2 separate regions of the Homo sapiens genome follow, and region 1 is linked to region 2. Evidence: promoter capture Hi-C in human tissues and cell types (Jung and others, 2019). All regions are on one chromosome and are shown on one strand. The core of a region is centred on a gene start or on the middle of the fragment in contact, and the rest is flanking DNA. Distances in the headings are between cores, read along the strand shown. Region 1 overlaps SSX2IP (SSX family member 2 interacting protein). Region 2 holds the start of MCOLN3 (mucolipin TRP cation channel 3).

Region 1 (3,935 bases), core at 881-3,380, 400 kb after region 2:
GAGCAATCATGTGAAATGGCAACTGTGTGGATGTTGAAATATTGATCATTATTTCTTTGGCTGTTTATGGTAGAGAAAGGCATTTGAAGAAGAAAGAGCCAGTTGGTTAAAGCAGCAGTTTCTAAATATGACTACCTTTGACCACCAGAACTCAGAAAATGTGAAACTTTTCAGTGCCTTCTCAGGAAGTGAGTACTTTATAAACTCTTTAATTTGAACATGCATATAAATAAAATTATTTACATATTACAAAATACTACATATTATTAATACAAAACTTTGGAAATCACCAATTAGAGCTCTCTAATTATAACTAAAAGTCAACTTTTTTTTGTTTGTTTTTGAGACGGAGTCTTGCTCTGTCGCCCAGGTTGGAGTGCAGTGACGTGACCTTGGCTGACTGCAACCTCTGCCTCCCAGCTTCACGCGATTATCTTGTCTCAGCCTCCTGAGTAGCTGGGATTACAGGCATGTGCCACCACGCCTGGCTAATTTTTGTATTTTTAGTAGAGACGGGTTTTTACCATATTGGCCAGGCTGTTCTTGAACTCCTGACCTCAGGTGATCCACCCATCTCAGCCTCCCAAAGTGCTGGGATTAGGCATGAGCCACTGCGCCTGGCCTAAAAATCAACTTTAATATTTTATTTACTGTAGTGAAAGTGAGGATGAGAGGGGGACTGTGCATGCCCAAAGTAACTTTTGTTGTGAGTTTGTAATAATGCGAAGTTTTTGAAAATTTACATTGAGAATTTCTTTTTTCAAGATGTAGTCTTGCTCTGTCACCCAGGCTGGAGTGCATCTCGGCTCTCTGCAGCCTCAGCGTCCTGGGCTCAGGCAATCCTCCTTGCCTCAGCCTCCTGAGTAGCTGAGACTATAGGCACACACCACCATACCCAGATAATTTTAAAAACTTTTTTGTAGAGACAAGCCCTCGCTATACTACCCAGGCTGGTCTCAAACTCCTGGCTTAAGCAGTCATTCCGCCTCACCTTCCCAAAGTGCTAGGATTACAGGTGTGAGCCACCCCACCCAGCCTAGAAATATTTTTAAAACTAGATCCTTTTGGCTGGGCACGGTGGCTCACGCCTGTAATCCCAGCACTTTGGGAGGCCGAGGCAGGTGGATCACGAAGTCAGGAGATCGAGACCATCCTGGCTAACACAGTGAAACCCCGTCTGTACTAAAAATACAAAAAAATTAGCCAGGCATGGTGGCGGGCCCCTGTAGTCCCAGCTACTCGGGAGGCTGAGGAAGGAGAATGGCGTGAACCCAGGAGGTGGAGCTTGCAGTGAGGCAAGATCGCATCACTGCACTCCAGCCTGGGTGACAGAGCAAGACTCCATCTCAAAAAAAAAAAAGATCCTTTTAAACATGGGTGGACTATGCAACAAAGATAAGCAAGATTAATGATAATTAATTTGAATTTGTTCCATCTCTTTCCTCACTCAGAACCGCAGATGAATCATCCTGATGATTTACCTTCACTATATTTAATGCCTCACCATATGTACTGCCTTTTTCTCTTACTTGTTTTACAACAGGTTCTGATTGGGACAATCTTATAGTGCACTCGAGGCAGCCGCAAAAGAAGCCTCACAGTGTGTCTAATGGGTCTCCAGTTTGCATGTCTAAACTTACTAAATCTCTTCCTGCTTCACCTTCCACTTCAGACTTTTGCCAGACACGTTCCTGCATATCTGAACATAGGTATTTGTCTATAGGTGATCTTTTCACGTGTTTCTAAAAATTGCTAAAGTTGCACTGCTAAGGGAAAGGTGGCATGTCTGTAGTATTAGCAACAATAGAGATTTTGGAGAGGAATTTAGTAGATGATTTATTCATTCTACAAATATTGAGTGTCCAGTATATATAGACACTGTGCTAGATGCTGGAAATACACTAGTGAACAGGTAGATCTGTTGTCTTCTTGGAGGTAAATCATATGATGTGTGTCTTTTTATTTCACATTTAAGATACAATTTAGAATGTAGTCTTAATTATAGGAGTTAATATTTTAAGCACTTTAATTGTATTAAATGGAAGGATATTGTTTTGACAGTTTTTGTAGAGTACATATCTTAACACTTTTTTCCGGCATGCCCATTTTATTGTTGTTGAAGGGCAAAGAACTGAGAAAAGCCTGTTCCTGTTGAGTGAAAAAGATTTGTGCCCAAGGATGACAGTGTAAAAAAACATGGCTCTCCACCCTGGGAAACCCATATGTTGCTCTTAATTGCTACATTTTGGTGTTTTCCTGTATCTCAAGTTATTATATCATTTTCTAAGATAAGATCAATACTCTGCTTCAGTGCCAATTCCAAGATTAGTTTTAAACGAAGAAGAGGAAGCAGGTAGAACATTCCTAGTAAGACAGAGAGGAATAGAAAAGATCAGAGGGGTAAGTTGGAAAGTATGGTGGTAATCTCTTTGCTCTTAATTAAAAGTAGGAGATAATGGCCTTGGAAAACAGTCAGAGCTGAAGCAAACTCGGCCTGTGTTAGAGACTGGAGTGGAACTAAGTGTCGAAGAAGCCAGCTGGCCCTTGGGCCAAGAATTATGAAATAGATGGAGTTTAAAACAAGAAAGGAAGCTTTTAAAAGAAGGAGGAGAACACACTATAAGTTGTAGTTGACTTTTAAGAGGTGGGGGGATTAGGACTCCAAGTAAATGTTAGAGGGGATGAAAAAGAGCTAGGTAAGAGCACTCTAGCCAAGTGTAGGAACCCTGAGGGTGGGACACACCTCATACATTTGCAATGGTGACCAAGACCTAGAGGTGTGAGATGAGGATGGAGAGATGTAAAAGTTCAAATATACAGAGAGGATAAGATCGTGAACCCACGTGTACCTATGACTCAGGTTCAGCAATTATTAACTCTGATCAATATTGTTCATATATAATCCCACTCTGCTTGCTCTCTCCACCCCAGCCCCAACACATCTGGGATTTCATTTACAGAATATTTTAGTGTGCATTTGCAGGTCAAATATTGTTCTAAGGGGAATAGAAAAAACACTAGTTTTAAGCAAGAGAGTGAAAAAAAGTCTTAAGTTTTAAAAAGATTACTGTTTTATAATATTGAAAACAGATTGTAGGAGTCTGTAATATAAACCAGGAAATCCAGTTAGGAGGCACTATTGGAGTGGAAACGAAAGACAATGGTAATTGGACTAGGGTCATAATATGAAGGAAGAAATGCTTGGATTTGGGATCTATTTTGAAGTTAGACCAGTAGATGAGTTGAATATGGGAAGTGAAAGTTTATTTATTTTACAATCAAAAGATAATGTGTAAGCTTATAGTATTTTCTTACATAGAATGTTATTCAAACTTCTAAATTTGACCAGTCAGAACTATCTGTATAGATATAGACACAAATTCTAGCCACCATTCACAAATAATGCATTTTATATCTAAGAGATAGCATAACATAGTTGTCTCAATTGTTTTTATATATTTTAAATATTTAGCTTTTTACATCATTTTTAGTTGTGAAATATTTGACATAAACATTTCTTGAAGACATTGTTTTATGTTTAATAAAGTTCAGCATTTAGTACCTAAATCATAGGGTGTTGCAAGTTAAATGTTAATGTATGTAAAGCACTTAAAAACATTTAGTGACAGACTATAAAAATAAAAATATATGTAAACAAATATAAACATGCTTTTTTTGTTTCTGAGTGCTCCACTAAACAACATCCGTGGCATAGAAACAATTTTGGAGCTTAAAGAAATTCAAGGTATTCATTGTTAACTAGCCTCTAAGAATAAAACAAACAGAAAAAAGTTTTATAACTAATAGAGAAGCTGTGCAGCCTGACTTGGTTCTTCACATTTTAAATTATTTGATAAACTTGGTTCTCTTGCTCCTGAAGCATTTTGGATCTCGGTTTATATTAATATTGCAACAAAATAATTAGGAGTATTTGT
Region 2 (4,022 bases), core at 909-3,408:
CTTTATAGATATAGGTAGGATAAATCCTCCAGTTTTATCTTTCTTTTAAAAAATTGCTTTGGTTATTCTGGATTCTTTGCATTTGCTTCCATAGGAATTTTAGAATCAGGTTGTCAATTTCTACAAAACAGTTTGCTAGAATTTTCATTGAGATTGGGTTGAATCTATAAATGAACTTGGTGAAAACTGACATCTTAATAATACTGAGTCTTGTAATTTATGAACATGGTTGATATTTTCATTAAGTTTTCCAAATAAAAGGGGGAATCAGCATTTATAAGCACATCACATATGCCTCATATAGTAATGGGTGCTTTACATGTATCATATTAATTAAAAATCACCATTCCTTTTATTAGCTAGATTGTGTTAGGGACAAGCTACCCCAAAAAAGCTTCTTGGTACTGCCAACACCCCCGCCCCCCACCCCCGCAAACCTCTCCGTACCACCCCTCCTCTTCCCCCAAACCTTTTTACATTTCTAAGCCCCTATCTAGGCACCGCGGTGAAGCCAGGAGACTTTTACCTATCAGGTCTTGCTGCTATAAAGCAAACCCAATTACAAACCATCCGGACTGCACAGTGGGAGGTCGTGGGAAGTATAAACAAACTTTACCTACACCCTCCGGTACCATAAACGTCACAAGGTGATATGTGGCAGAGTTAACCAACAAACAACTCCAGGGTCTCTCTCCCCCACATAAAACCCTCATTTTGTAAGCTCAGGGCTGCCTCCTCTGTCTGTAATGGAGCAGCCGGCAGGTTGAATAAAGGCTTGCCTGAACTTGGGTCTCGGTCTCTCTCGGTCTCTCTCTCCCTCTCTCTCTCTCTCTCTCGTCCTTTCTCTCGGCTAACTTCACAGATTGCACATAAAAAAGAAAAGGGGTTCAGAGAAGGTAAGTAACTCCCTAGAGACCAATAAGTGGCACAGAAGGGAATTTGGGCCCTCATCTGTCTGACTCCAAAACCTGGCTTTATCTATTCACCGGTCCTTATAACTCAGCTAAAACGAGGGTTAAGCAAGTGCCATCATTTATGACTGTGAACCTCTTCAAAGTTCAGATTGTTCCTGAACAATCAAGCATTTCAAACTCTTACCATCAAGTAAGGAGATAGCGTTACATCGTGTGTAGGCATATGGGGATTAAAGATTACATTATATTTTCCAAATTGCACTTGAGAATTGACTGTGCCAATTATATCCTTTCTGGGTATCTACCTTGTTCACAGTATGTGGGATCCAGGTTGAGGAACAGCATAAAATTCTTGTACCCTGTTGCAAAAATTTATTAGTAATCCATGCATACTGGTTTAGGATTTGAAAACAGGTTTTATAAAAGGTTTGCTAGGTATCGATCTAATTTCAGGAATACCCTAGTAGGGAAATTCAGTGACCTTTACAAATTTACCCGTGGCCAAAAAAAAAAAATAAGTAAAAATTAAAAATCAGAACACATCCAAAGTAATTATAATTAAAATTAACCAAAGTTCCTGATCCAATCCTGATAAGGGGTATTAGGTTTAATATTTACAGATAATTTATGAAGAAAAAGATTACGGTTCAAAGTCTACTTCAGGTATTTCTATTTACATTTCTTGGAAAAGTTTCCCAGGGCTCTTTCTGCCCCAGCCGCCAATCTACAGAAGAGTCTAGTCGACTGTCCACTCATTTCACAGCACTTGTCTGAAACTAGAAGACCCAGGGAGGGAACAAGGTTCAGGCTTGAAACGCTAAGACATTCAAGATTTCACCTTGTATGCAAAAATCAGAATGGGAGGCTGCAGCGGGGCCTCACACTCACCGGAGCTAGGCGCTATAGATCCCGCACCCGCGGAGCCCGGCAACCACCTGAGGGGCCTTGGCCAGGAGGGGGTGGCCCCCCGGCGCCGGCGGCAGCTCCGGAGCAAACCTGGCAAACCCGAGCAGGGCGGTGCGGGTTGCTCAGGGAGAAAATGAAGGGAGTGATAGGGTGGGGGTGGCAGGGAACGGGCACAACGCCGGCTTCCTCCGGACGGCCTCCTGCGTCCCACCTGTGCTCCTGAAAAGCGGCCCCCGACAGGGCGCGGCGGGAACCCGAGCCGGGAGTAGGGTCACGAGTTAAAGCGGCGGGGGCGGGAGGATGCGCGGGCGGCGGACGGGGCGCTCTCCTCCCGTCTGACTCTGGGCGGAGCGGGGCTCGAGGCTGCTGGAGTCGCTCGCTGACTCGCCCTGCGCCCTCGCCGCGGACACCGGAGCTGCGGCCGCTCCCCGCTGTCCCCCAGGTGAGCCCGCGGGGCGCTGCCCCGGGGCGTCGGGTGTCGCGGGAACGGCGCCCGCGGCGCACAGGGAGGGCCGGGGAGGCCGGGAGGCAGCGAGCTGTCGGGGACGCCGCGGGAAGGCCGGGCCGGGCAGTCGGCGCCATGGAGGGCAGGCGGGCTGGAGCTGGGCGCGAGATGCAGCTGTTCCGCGCCGCCCCCAAGCCGCCCGCAGGTCAGTGGAGGAGCGCGCCTGCCGGGCCTGCCCGGGGCTGGGCGGGTGGGGGTGCTCTGCTCCTCGGTCCCCCTCCAGGCCGCCGCCCACCTGTGGCCAGGGCTCAGAGGGCTGGAAGCCACCCCCGCCCGGAGCCCCTGGGCTGGAAGGCTTGGATGCCGGCCGGGGCTCCAGATGGCCTTGACGCGGCTCGGCTGGCCCCTTTCAAGGCGGACTGTCCCCCTGTTAGAGGTGGGGGCGGCTGGAAGTGGGGGCTCAGGCCCGGGTCGCTGCGCTGGCTGAAAGCAGCCGCCAGCCGGGCTGCGGCCGTCTGAGCTCCACGGCAGTGCCCGGGGATGGCAGCGACCGCTCTGGGACATCGCTGCAACCCTGCAGATCTTTCTCGCACACACTACCCAACAAAAGTGTCAACCCTTGTTGTTTGTTTGTTTGAAAAAAAAAGAAGACTGGAGAGACTAAAGTTTTGTGTCTGGTGAAGTGGGAAAGCGCTTCTGAAAAAACGAGGTTGCATAACTTTGTCGCCAACTGGGAGGCCTTTGCTATTTATACACTCCCGGGCTTTCTCCAATTTTCTACAGCTTACTCCAATCAAGCCTCTGCCCGCCAGGAACAGGTAACCTGTGTGTGTCCGTTTGCTCCTTCTAAGAGCATGCCTGATAGATACTTCGGTAGCCTCTCCGGATGGCCCCTTCGTCGGGTAGCCTCTCCTGATGGGGTCCTTCGCCCACCCTGCCTCCCGCGCCGGCGCTCCGGGTGAATGTCAAGGGTGGCTGGCTGCGAATACCTCCTTCAGCTGCTGGGGTTCCCGACAGTTTGCAGTTTTTAAAAGTGCACCCTCGGAAGGGCTTTTCAGACTGGGTAAACCTGACTTTTCCAAGGTCAGCATCTGGTCCTGGTGAATGAAATGTCTACCGGGACAACTCGTTGTGATGTGCTGAATATATGCTGGTTGGCTTGTTTTCTCTTTGTTCCTGTGGATTACTGTACATGGTGTGTGGCTAGTTTGTTTAAAATTTAATTTTCCCTGTATCAAAGTGGAAAGCGCTTAGTGTCAATATACAACTCACCAACATGCTTATTAACAGCTTCATCATTATGTTGGTGTTCATATGCGAGCTTTGGTCAACATGAAATCATCTGCGTTTTAAGTCCTATAGATAAAGTCTCCTTAAATGCTGGTTAAAATATCCTGCCTTTTTGAAGGAAGTAAAACTGTTAAGTGAAAATCCTAATTTATTAATAACTTTTTCTTTCCTTTATGCCTTTACCTAAGAATTACTGCATTTATGCTTTGACAGGCATTTTAACACGCACACAGGAGCCACACTTTAATGAGTTATATAATAATTATTTCATTTTGAAGGTACTGCATTTGCCATACAGTAAATATGTTTTATGGTTTATTCATCCAGCAGTATCCTTATTAATCTTTTCATTAACAAGAGTTTAAGAACCTTCCCCATGCTATTCTTTATAGCCAGTATCTATTGTTCGGAGATGTTGGGCTTCCTAAGAATGCTTGAATTGGAATCAAAAGTGGGGTTCTAGACTT

Evidence for each region. The method cuts DNA at HindIII sites, captures the fragments that hold promoters and counts their contacts. A contact is called where the count stands out against the background at its distance.
Region 1: a contact is called between a fragment that was not itself captured here and the fragment with the promoter of MCOLN3 in region 2, in 1 of the 25 tissues and cell types used here (H1 embryonic stem cells).

Annotation. Positions count from the first base shown.
Region 1 is chr1:84,648,136-84,652,070 of GRCh38, reverse strand. SSX2IP (SSX family member 2 interacting protein) reads left to right here. Exons shown (of 14, transcript NM_001166293.2): 12 at 74-188; 13 at 1,544-1,709. Among named protein-coding and RNA genes, the nearest start is that of LINC01555, 15 kb to the right of the region's middle. The HindIII fragment of the contact is 3,856 bases long and covers 203-3,935 here.
Region 2 is chr1:85,046,636-85,050,657 of GRCh38, reverse strand. MCOLN3 (mucolipin TRP cation channel 3) reads left to right here and starts at 2,158. Exons shown (of 13, transcript NM_018298.11): 1 at 2,158-2,262. RefSeq lists silencers at 1,757-1,896, 1,927-2,676. The HindIII fragment of the contact is 9,392 bases long and covers 1-4,022 here.